Linked DNA regions of Homo sapiens: region 2 is linked to region 1. Evidence: promoter capture Hi-C in 16 types of primary human blood cells and fetal thymus (Javierre and others, 2016). All regions are on one chromosome and are shown on one strand. Each heading gives the region's core, a stretch centred on a gene start or on the middle of the fragment in contact. The rest is flanking DNA. Distances are from core to core; before and after follow the strand shown. Region 1 holds the start of CSNK2A1 (casein kinase 2 alpha 1). Region 2 has its middle 39 kb from the start of SCRT2.

Region 1 (6,112 bases), core at 1,564-4,063:
GAGGATCGCTTAAGCACAGGAGTTCAAGGTTATAATGAGCTGTGATCATGCCACTGCACTCCAGCCTGGACAACAGAGCAAGATCCTGTCTCAAAAGAGAGAGAGAGAGAGAGAGTCACTCTAATGGCCCAGGTTGAAATGCAAGCTCCATCTCCGGCATGTGACCTTGGGCATGGCCTGTGATCTCTGTGAACCTGAGTCTCCTCATCTGTACGGTGAGATACTTTTGGTTTCTACCTCATCAGGTTGACATGAGGATTAAGTGAGATGATGAACATTCAGTGTGTGGCACAGTGCAAGTACTCTCAACATCTTAACTCTTGCTTCTGCTGCTGTTGTTTGCAGAAAGACTAGCCTGAGAGGTGTGATGTGGGGGATCAGAGACAGTAAGAGTTAAGGATAAATGTTAAGTCTACAACTAGGTGAACACTTGGGATGGGAAGCCTCTTGAGACCGGAGACCTACATGAGGCTGGCGTAGTAGACGGCAGGAGTTGGGTTTCAATTATGTCCTGCATGAGTATGAGGGTTGTATATGTGTGCCCAGGTGAGCCCTCTGAATGAAGTCATGGATAGAGGCCAGAACTAGGAAGAAGAATGAAGAACTAATGCTGTGAGAGAGGCTGAGATTGGAAAGGCATGAAGGCTAAGCAATGGGAAATATCCTCACTACACTCAGATGAAAACCCAGCTTCCTTATCATGACCTGAATGCCCTGCCCACCTCTCCCACCATATTTCTTCCTCTTCTTCCCTTTATTTGCAGTGCTTCAGCCACCATGGCCTCCTTCTTCAAACTTGTGATGCTCTTTCCTGCCTTGGGACGTTTGCACTTACTGTTTCCTTCTCAAAGGGACCTTCTGAACCACTCAAGCTAAAGCTCTATACTTCACAGCTACTTATCTTTTCCTTTCGTAGCACTTATTGCTACCTGAAATTACTTTGTTTATGCATTTGTTTACCTGTGCATTACTTGCTTCTCACTTTAGAAGGTAAGCTCCACCAGTGAGCAACTGGTGTATGTCTTCCTCATAACACATCCCCAGTACCTAGCACAGTGTCTGGCTCATAGCAAATGATGAATTGTTGTGAGTTAAACAAATGTGAATACAGTTGGGAAAAACAAAGCCACAAGAGCCAAAAAGATACGTTCGAGAGGTAGGTAGAAGGGTATCATTTCCTGGAAGATGGCTTCCCAGAAACTTTGGGATTATCTTGTATAACCTCCTCAGTCCACAAGTGGGGAAATTGAGGCCCAGTTACAGGACACTGAGAGAAAAACTGTTGTGGGTTCCCAGGCAATTGGGATCAGATGTCACAAGCTGTCTAGCAGATGAGGTCCAGAGAAGGCCACAGCCACCTCCCTGAGGCCATCACTATAAGTCTGCAGCCACCACCAGCCCTAACCCCACATGGGGAAGAGGTGCCTCTTTGGGAGCAGAGGTGCTAGTCAGCTGACAAACTGTGAAGGCAGGGCTGTGGAGGGTGGAGAGGCCCATTCCTGAGACAACCAGCTATTCTGAGACAGTTAGGGATAATGGTTGGTACTGAAAGAACCTGGCCTCCTCACCCTCGTTCCAGTGCTCACACCTCTGTCCCACCAGAGGTGAGACTAATACTTGAACTCCTTTCAGCAACTCTTAGACGCTTCAGCTTTTATCAGGGCCTGCAAAGGAGAGGTTGATCATCAGATGGAGCCCTGTCCACTGGGGGCTCCCAGTCTGATGGAGGAGACAGACTGAGGTCCTCAGGTTACTGACTGATAGTGTCTGGGTTGGAGGGAGTTAAACAGAGAGGAGACCCCTAGAGGAAAGGATCCCTGAATTAGTTCAATCGGCATACAGAAATTATCCAGTCCATGAGGTGACAGTAAGAGAAGTAACTGCCAGTGTAAAGGGAGGGAGGCAACACAGCTAAGTTCCAGGAATTGTTTGCAGTCTTGTGGGTGGAATCTTCCGGAATTTGAGAAGAGAGTGGCAGAATAGGAGGCTGGAAAGGAGGGTTTGGCCAAATTATGGAGGACTCTGAATGTCAAGTGAAGAGTTTGGGCTATCTTTGGTGCATAAAGAGGTCCATGGGAGATTTTTGACCATAGGGAGACCATGATGAGCTCTGCATGGTAGAAAGTGCTTTGTGGCTGTTTTGGGGAGGTAGCTCGGGCAAGGAGAGCAGGGGTGGGAGGCAGATAGAAGGAAAAAAAAACACTGTATTTTGGACGCACAGCTCTTGGCAGGACTCCTGTAGGAGGAAGGAATTGGGCCTTGGTCTCTTGAGAGCTAGTATCCTCACTTCTCAGACTCCTGCGCCATGCCCTTCCTAGGGTCCAACTTTCATTCACTTCTTCCGAACTCCAAGTTTGAATAGAAAGTGTTGCTGAAACCCTAATTTAAAACGAGGGGTCAGAGCAAAAGAGACTTCAGCTCCCAGAATGCTTGGCTCTACAGCTCTGCAGGTCGCGCATGGTTCTTTTCAAGAAAGGGGGGCCAGCTGGGTGAAGTGTGGGAAACCTGGGTACCGCCATCTTAACTTGGGTCAAACCAACTGTTCACCTAATGGGAGGTTCGTGTTCTCTCTGTTGTCACTTGTTAACACTATTGAAATAAAATGCGCTTAACTATTGCAAGTCTCCTTATTCTGCTTTGCGTTGGGGATTCCTTCCATTTTGCACCCTAGGCCAGAACTGAATCCCTAAGGTTACAATAGGACATCCCAGCATGGCCGCATTCAGAGAGATTCCTCTGGGGGCGGAGTCGGAAGCTGTCTCGCCCCGCCTCCTGGTAGGAGGGGGTTTCCGCTTCCGGCAGCAGCGGCTGCAGCCTCGCTCTGGTCCCTGCGGCTGGCGGCCGAGCCGTGTGTCTCCTCCTCCATCGCCGCCATATTGTCTGTGTGAGCAGAGGGGAGAGCGGCCGCCGCCGCTGCCGCTTCCACCACAGGTACCTAGGGAGCAGCCAGGCGAGGTCGTTGGCGGGTGGGGTGGGCCCAGGATAGGGCAGCGGAGCGCGGCCGACCCTCACGCTTCCAGCAGACTCCTGAGCGGCCCGTCGCCTTCCCCTGCCCCCACCTTCACACATAAACCAAGCGAGGCCCCTGCAGCCCATCGGGGAGGCCCAGGGGCCACCCCTCAGGGCGGAGGGCGAGGTTTGGGGGCAGAGGCCGATGTGAGGGTGGGAACCGGCTGCCGGAGTCCAGCTTATTGCAGAGGAGAGGACTGAACTGGGTGGGGACTAGGGGACAACTTGGAGGAGGGGGTCGTCAGAGGGGGAAGGGAACTTGAGGGGTGGGGCCGCAGGGGGGTGCTGGGGGAGGGTGCGGAGGGAGTGGTGCCTGCTGGGTAGTGTGCAGTGAACCCTCCCGCGAAACTGGGCAGCTGGAGTAGGGGCCTTCTTAGGGTCCCTCTGGGCGGGGCTGAGCTTCCCACCTGCAGAGTGGGTGCGAGGTGGAGAGAACCCCAGGCGGGGTTGCTGGGGCGAAAGGGGGAAGGGACCAAGACGTGGGGCAGAACGTCTGGAGTTGGAGTTAAGGACTAGTTAGGAGCCTGGATAGAAAAAGAGGTATGGAGAGAAAGCTTGGCTAAGGGTATACATATGTTGGTGACCTTTTGAAAGAGTAGGACTTTTCAATTTTGTTTTTCGTTGTGTGTTTTTTGCAGTGTTGGAACATTGCTAGATTAAGCAGGTGATGGGTGGAGCTTCTGTAGTTTGTTTTGGGGAAGCAGAGTCAGGGTCAGGAGAAGTTGCATCTTGGCTATTGCTTTGTGTGGAGGAAAGAGTTTTGAAAAGAAGGTGGCAAATTATTTGGGAAGACTTGATTACTTTTCAGCTGTTTAATTCTACGAGAATGGGACATGGGGAGAGGAAATGAAAACTAAGAAGAGAGGCCGGGCGTGTGGCTCACGCCTGTAATCCCAGCACTCTGGGAGGCCGAGGCGGGTGGATCACGAGGTCAGGAGTTCGAGACCAGCCTGACCAACACGGTGAAACCCCGTCTGTACTAAAAATGCAAATATCAGCCGGGCTTGGTGGCGCGCGCCTGTAATCCCAGCTACTCGGGAGGCTAAGGCAGGAGAATCGCTTGAACCTGGGAGGCGGAGGTGGCAGTGAGCTGAGATCCGCCACTGCACTCCAGCCTGGGCGACAGAGCGAGACTCCGCCTCAAAAAGAAAAAAGAAAACTAAGAAGGGAAGATTTTTCCAAGAATTGGAGACTTCATTCCATCTGAGGAGTGCAGTGTAGGCCCAGTGGTTAAAAACCAGACTGCCTAGGTTCTCAAATATCAGGGCCATTGCTACTTAGCTGTGTGACCTAAACTCTCTAAGCCTCAGTTTTCCCGTCTGTAAAAGGGGGATGATGGTATTTTCTAGCTTGTGAGTTTACGGAGAAGAGTAAATAAGACAATTTGTGTCAAGTGCTTACTACAGTGTCTGGCAGGTAGTAAGTGTAGTAAGTAGCTTTTACCTGTCACTGTAAAGGGACTAGCTGGTATATTTGGGGCTCTTCTGTTCTAAGTAAAATTTATAGTCAAGAATTTGACTGTAGACAGGGCTTTAGAGTAGTATCTTTGTAGTTGTTGTAGGGTTTTGTTGTAAGTCATTTGGCTTTACTGGCTTGGTGGACCTGGGGCTGAAAGTCCAGTACCAATACTAGTTCTCCTCCGTGGTATTCTCAAAAGTTCACCTGCAGTCTTAGCAGGGCATGTTTTTGTCCTTCTGTGACTTTGAAATACTTGGCTTTGGTTTGCTATTGCGGGAGGGTGTATGACTTGAAGAAAGAATGCAAGATTGGAAATTTGCTTAGATTGATTAATCAACTGATTATACAGTTAGGTCCCCGTGAGGTGACTTTTCTTTAAAAATAAAAAAAAGCCTAGTTATGTACTCCTTTGTGGAATACAGAGAAGAGAAATACACATTTAAGGAGGAGCATGGGTTAGTTTCTAAGTAGTTATGGGTGAAGTGCCTTGCAATTTGAGGATGAAACAGGTGGCAACTCCTTTTCCATACTGCGCGTCCTTTTCCTACTCACTCATCCAGAGTGAGTCCTTGTTTTTACTATTGTCTCTATCTCTGAACATACATCTTTGTGTCACATAAGTAAAGACATATGTATGTATGTATATATACTTTACTTCACATAAGTAAAATATATACATCTTTACTTCACACTCTGTTAAAGAAAGGGATGATTTTCTTTAGGAAGTGAGTTTAAACCCTTCCATAGGACTTGGATTTGTAGTAGGCAGAATTACATCTCCCTCTTCCCAAGGTGCCATACCTTGATCCCCAGAATCTGTAGCTATCCTGTGTTACATGGCAAAAGGAACTTGGCAGGTGTAATTAAGGTTAAGAATCTTAAAATAGAAAAATTATCCTGGATTTTCTGGGTGGGCCGAATCTAGTCACTTAAGTCCTTAAAAGCAGAGAACTTTCTCCAACTGGGATCAGAGAAATGGGCAGAAAAGGAAATCAGAGATTTGAAGCATGAGAAGGACTCCATTTGCCTTTGCTAGAGAGGACCACATGGAAAGTTTATCAGAAGGAATGTGGGCAGCCTCTAGTGGCAAAGACCAGTCCCTGGCTGACAACCAGAAAGAAATGGGGACCTCAGTTGTGCAACCAGAAGGAACCTGAATTTGGTCAACAACCTGATTGAGCTTGGAAGTGAATTTCCCAGTTTCCACCAAGGAATGCAACCTTGAGACACCTTGATTTTTGGCCTCGTGAGACCCTAAGCAAAAGACCTAGCTAGCCAAGCCCACCCAACTTCTGACCTACAATAACTGTGAGATAACAAATTTGTGTTATTTTTAGCTACTACATTTGTGGTAATTTGTTATGGCAGCAGTAGAACACTAGTATAGATTTTGGTACCAGGAGTGGGGTACTATTACCTAAAAATGAAAGTGGCAGTAGATAAAGGTTAGAATTGTTTTGAGGGGCATGATAGAAAAGGCCTGGAACACAGGAGGATCGCTTGAGCCCAGGAAGTCAAGGCTGCAGTGAGCGGTAATGGCACCACTGCACTCCAGCCTGGGTGGCAGAGTGAGACCCTGTCAAAAAAGAAAAGGCCTAGGACATACTTTTAGTAGCAATATGGATGTTAATGACTCTGCTAGTGA
Region 2 (6,142 bases), core at 568-3,067, 170 kb before region 1:
CAGCCAAGATTCAAATCCAGGCTGCCTGAGGTATTAACTACTATGATGTTCTGCCCTTTTTACTGCCAAAAAAGCCTGAGGCTCAAGGAGAGGACATGACTTGCATGAGGCCACACACTAGAGTGGTGGTGGCTGGACTGGAGCCCAGGCGTCCTGCCTCCACGCCCAGCGCTGGCTCTCCACCCCCCGCCCCACTCCACGGGGCTCTTTCTCACTCTATGTTGATTCACAAACATCAGTTGGGAGCCTTCTTTGGCCAGGAGGTCTGCCTCAGTTCCCCTACCTAACAGGTGAGGCAAACAAGAAACAGACACCTAAAAAACAAATGGATAAATGGGTTCATGGAGGTACCAGAGGCAGCTGTGGGAGTACCAGGCAGGACACAGAGCCACCCTGGGAAAAAGAGAAGGCTTCTGGAAGTCTGATCCTTGAGTTGAATCTCCAAGTTCAAGTGGCACCCTTTCCGGAAGGACAGAATGGAATAGGGCATCCCAGACTGAGGAAACAGCACGTGCAAGGGTTGGGGTATGGGAGAGTGTAAATTGTTGTGAAAAGTACTGTTCAACCCCACGCAAGGGAGGGCACAGAAAAGGCTGTCCTGGAGGATCATGGAAAGAGTCTCAGAGAGTCAGAACGCGGGAGTCCTGACCACAAATCTGCCCTGTCTCACAGTGACCTTGGTATTCCCATCTGTAAAATGGATTGATATCTAAGCACTCTGCCAGCTCCATCCTTCAGCTGGTGGAGTTAGGATGGCTTTGAGTAGGGGGCTGGTTTTGATGTGAGGGCAGAAGGTAAGGGAGGAAAGGCATTCTGGAAAGGAGGACCTGTAGGAGCAAAGGTCCAGAGAGAGAAAGTGCAGAGCAGGCATTAGAAATGGTAAGGACGGCCAAACACGGTGGCTCACGCCTGTAATCCCACTACTTTGGGAGGCCAAGGCAGGAAGATTTCTTGAGTCCAGGAGTTCAAGACCAGCCTAGACAGCATAGTGAGACCCTGTCTCTATGAAAAAAAAAAAAATAGCTGGGCATGATGGCAAGCACCTATAGACCCAGCTACTTAGGAGGCTGAGGCAGAAGGACTGCTTGAGCCCAAGAGGTCAAGGCTGCAGTGAGCTGTGATTATGCCACTGCACTCCAGTCTGATCAACAGAAAGAGACCTTGTCTCAAAAAAAGCAAGCAAGCAACGGTAAGGAGAGGATGTAGCTGCTGTTGATGGTCCATTGGATGGTGCAGACAGGGGACACATATGAAGAAGTTGTATCAGTCTGGACTCTTCAGTTAGAAGTGAAAGAAATAAAAAAAAAAGTAATTATTAATTTATATAACTGAGAAGCCCAGGGCACTGGCTTCTGTTATGGCTGAATCCAGGTGCTGACATGTTACTGTGAGGATCCTGTCTCTCTCTCTATCATGGCTTTGATTTCTTTCTTGTAGGCCTCACTCTCAGGCAGCCTGTAACCTCATGGAGGCAAAGGTGGCCACCACTACCTCTGGAATCCATCACACAAACTACACTTCTGGTGGAAAGGCTCCCAGTAGCCCCACAAAAACCTCAGAAGCAGCTCTTGCCAGACTTACTTCCTAGAATTGTCATGAAGATTAAAGAAGTTAATAGAGCTTAGCCCAAGCTCTGGTACACAGCAGGTCCTCAGTCTTTGCTGTAGCTCAGCCAGAGAACTTGACATTATCCTGGACTATTCTCTGTCTTCACATCTAACATTAGATCTGTTTGCAAATCTTATTGGATCTACATATAAAAGAGATCTAGAATGCATACAGTTCTTCCCACCTCCACTGATAACAGTCTAGTCCAAGCCACCTTCATCTCCCTACTTTGTTTTCTAAGTTTTATATGTATATAGTATATTTATATAGTAATATATTCATGTATTCAATTCAATTGTGAACACAATTTAGACGTGTACATCCAGCTCAATGAATCTTCACACAGTGAGCAGATGATGTAACCTCCCTCAGATCAAGATACAAGACACCGACAGCACCCCAGAAGCCTCCTTCATCCCCGCTCCTAGTTATTCACCCCCTTGGTAGTGTGTCCTTTCATGTGTCTGAGTCACTAGCATTCACCTGGCTTAGTGCACTGGTTCCCAGCAAGTCTCTGGCTTTCTCTCTTGCCCTCTTATCCCTTTCAGTTAATCCAATCGATTCAGAGATCCTGTAAAAGATGTCCTCCCTCTGCTCAAAATCCTCCCATGGCTCCCATTTCATTTGGTGTAAAAGCCAAAATCCTCTCCATGGCCTGCAAGGTCCTACACAAGCTGACACCTCATCCCTCCCTCTCCCCACTTTCCCCACATAACTCTCTGCTCCAGCCATACGTGCTCCCTTCCTTCCTCAAACACACTACCCGCACTCTCAGCTATACACGCAGGAGACCATTGTACTTGCTGTTCACACTGCCTAGAATCTCCTTCCTCTCCCCACTCCCATATCCTCTTGGTTCACTCCATCAACTCCTTCAAGTTTGTGTTCAAATGTCACCTTCTCATATCTGCTTCCACCCAAGATGGAGTATCAGAAACTGAATTTACTCTCCTGCTTGAAACAATCAAACAAACAAACCAAACCAGGCAAAATACATGAAACTGTAATTTTTAAGACTCTAGGCAACAGGCAATAAAGGATCATGATCCCTGAGAAGTGGGAAATAAGATGAACCCTATCATGGCCTCAGTTTGCCGCTTGGAGAGAGTTTTCAGAACCTAGTGCAGGGAGGAGGAACCCAGGCAGCACCCAGGAGGCTTCCTGAGTTAAGGAAATAGAGTTGAGAGTCCAGGAAGGACAAAGAGGGCAGAGTTTGCAGGACACAGTATTGGGAGGAAAGAGTTGCACAGAGAGACTATTCCAGAGATATGAAGAAAGTCCCCCTTGAGTATTAGACTGAGTACTGGTTGGTGCTTTTGTATGATAAAACTACACTGAAGTAGGGGTGAAAATCATCTGATAAGATTAGAGAACAGTGCTCAGCACTCACACAAAACCAGAAATATTAATAAACAGAAAAAACCCTCATAATTTCTGGGGTACTGGGTAGAGTGCTCAGGAAGGTCTTTTCTCAACAGTGGTATATAATTAGCCCTCAACAGATAGCACTGCTCTGGACCCACTCAACAAATTATAAAAGCAAGACTAGGAAGGATAAAACTGTTTCCAAGTAACTTAATTGCATCTTAGAGCAAAACTGAAGGAGATTTATAGAAATATAAAAGTGTACAGCACCCAACAAGGGTAATGTTCACAATGCCTGGCATCCAAAGTTTACCATGCACGTAAATAAGCAAGAAAACATGGCCCATACAAGAATAATAATCAATCAATTGAAACTGACCCAGAACTGATACAGAAGTAGGAGATAAGAGCATTAAAATAAGTATTCAAATTGTATTTCATGGTCTGCATGTTCAAAGGTTAAGGAGAGACTTGGAAGATATAAAATGACCCAAACTGAACTTCTAGAAATGATAACTACATGTCTGAAATGAAAAATATGCTGATGTGACAGAAGAAAAGATTAGAGAATTTTAAGATGTAGCAATAGAAACTACCCAAAATCGACGACTCAGAGAAAAAGAAAGAATCCAAAAAACCAAGAGTATTAGGAGCTATGGAACAACTTCAAGAAGCCTAATATATGTGTCTTTGAAGTCCCCAAAGGAGAGGAAATAGAAAATTAATGGCTGAGAATATTTCATATCTGATATAAACTATAAACTCACAGATCCAAGAAGCTTAACGAACCTCAAGCACAAGAAACAGGAAGGAAATTACCCACCATGAACGAATTGCTCAAAACCAGTGACAAACAGATAAATATTAAAAACAGTCAGAGAAAGAAAAGCCTTGTAAAGTATAGAGAAACAAAGATAAGGATAATGGCAGATTTCTTGTTGGACACAATTTAAGGAAGAAAATAGTGAAGCAACAACATCTTTTAAGCTAATGAAAGAAAAAACCTGCCGATCTAGAATTCTATACCCAGTTAAAATATCTTTTAAAAATGAAGATGAAATAAAGATGATTTCAGACATACAAAAGCTGAATGCATTTGTCACCAACAGATCTGCACTGCAAGAAGTGATAAAGGAAATCCTTCAGGCAGAAGGAAAATGATACCAGATGGAAATCTGGATCTACATAAGGGAATGGAGGTCACCAGAAGTGTTAACTACATGAGTTAAATATATAAAATCTTTTCTGATTATTTAATTTAAAAAAAGATAACTTAGCATTTAAACAAAAATAATAACATTTTGTGGAGTCTGTCACACATATGTATGTATGACAACAACAGCAAGAAGGCCAGGAAGGAAATGAAAGTATACTATTACATGATTTTCTTTTTGAGTCTTGCTCTGTCACCCAGGCTGGAGTGTAGTAGTGCTATCTCAGCTCACTGCAACCTCTGCCTCCCAGGTTCAAGCAATTCTCCTGCCTCAGCCTCCCGAGTAGCTGGGACTGTAAGCATGCACCACCATGCCTGGCTAATTTTTGTATTTTTAGTAGAGACAGGGGTTCACTATATTGGCAAGCTGGTCTCAAACTCCTGACCTCAGGTGATCCGCCCACCTCAGCCTCCCAAAGTGCTGGGATTACAGGTGTGAGCCACCGTACCCAGGCTTATAAGGCCTAATGTAACTACTAAGATAACAAACAAAACATTACAGTTAATAAACCAACAGAGAAGGTAAAACGATATAATAAAAAAGGAGGAGTTAAAATGAAATAGTAAAAAAAACTGAGCTTATACAAAAGAAGACAGAAAAAGAAGAAAAAGGAAGCAAAGAACAGATGGGACAAAAATAAAACAAATAGCAAGATGATAGACTTAAATCTAACCACGTCAATGATCACATCAAATGTAAATGGTCTAAATACCCTCAATTAAAAAGCAGAGATTGTTAGATTGGATTTTTTTAAAAAAATAAGACCCAAATATTGTTTTTTTTAAAAAAAAAAAATAAGACCCAACCTTCAAAACGGCACACCTTAAGTGTAAACACACAAGTTAAAAGTACAAAGATGGAAAGTAACAGTAATCAAAATAACACTGGAGGAGTAGCTAGTTTCATATCAGACAATGTTTGTTTCAGAGCAAAGAATATTACCAGGAAAGATAAGGTCATTTTATAATGATTAAAAAGGTCAAGGCTGGGTGCGGTGGCTCACGCCTGTAATCCCAGCACTTTGGGAAGCCAAGGCAGGTGGATCACAAGGTCAGGAGTTTGAGACCAGCCTGACCAACATGGTGAAACCCCATCTCTACTAAAAATACAAATATTAACTGGGCGTGGTGGTGCACACCCGTAATCCCAGCTACTCAGGAGGCTGAGGCCAGAGAATCTCTTGAGCCCAGGAGGCGGAGGTTGCAGTGAGTCGAGATTGCGCCACTGCACTCCAGCCTGGGCGACAGAGCAAGACTCTCCATCTAAAAAAAAAAAAAAAAGGTCAGTTAATCATGAGCATATAACAATTCTAAATATTTATGCCCCCAATAGCAGAGATTCAAAATACATGAAGGAAAAAGTGAATGACCTGCAAGGAGAAATAAATCCACCTTATCAACTGAGATTTCAAATCTCCATAACTGAAAGCAGAAAGAAAATATTGTCACTTTCTTAGTGAGTCCTGCCTTGACTCTCAATTTCAATTGCACCTTCTAAAATAACATTTATTTATTTATTCATTTTTATCTATTTATTTGTATAATGTCTAGAATGGTGTCTGGCGCTTAGAAAATTCTCAAAAAAAAAAACTGTTAAATAAAACCAAGGTCAAAAGGATGTTAATTGCTACTATCATGACTAGTATTATGTGACTCTGCACATAGTCTTTCTCTATTGTTATTTGAATGGGTAGACCCCAACAAAATTAATACTGAAGACTCAATCTAGAACATAAGGGCGGAAATCAGAACTTCACCATATTCGTGTAAGATGCATAGGATGGGAAAATTCTAAAAAGTCAGAAGAATACAATGTTAGAATGTAGGATGCTTAGGGGCAGAACATCAGAATCAGAGACCAGAGTTGATGAGGAAACTAACCCTGCTATGCATGGGGTGGGAGTAGGGGTTGGTCAGAGCCAAACAGCACTTTCTAAAATCCCACCTGCTGGTTCT

Evidence for each region. Contacts are between HindIII fragments. The CHiCAGO score rates a contact against its expected background, and 5 or more counts as called.
Region 2: a fragment that was not itself captured here is called in contact with the fragment with the promoter of CSNK2A1 in region 1 in 2 of 17 cell types (megakaryocytes and M2 macrophages); the score reaches 6.2 in megakaryocytes.

Annotation. Positions count from the first base shown.
Region 1 is chr20:540,491-546,602 of GRCh38, reverse strand. It overlaps CSNK2A1 (casein kinase 2 alpha 1), which reads left to right and starts at 2,813. Exons shown (of 14, transcript NM_177559.3): 1 at 2,813-2,931. RefSeq lists enhancers at 2,348-2,407, 2,518-2,567, 2,678-2,757, 2,778-2,927, 2,413-3,106 and 1 more and a silencer at 3,248-3,307. The HindIII fragment of the contact is 12,556 bases long and covers 1-3,565 here.
Region 2 is chr20:712,037-718,178 of GRCh38, reverse strand. No RefSeq gene overlaps it. Among named protein-coding and RNA genes, the nearest start is that of SCRT2, 39 kb to the right of the region's middle. The HindIII fragment of the contact is 3,874 bases long and covers 1-3,754 here.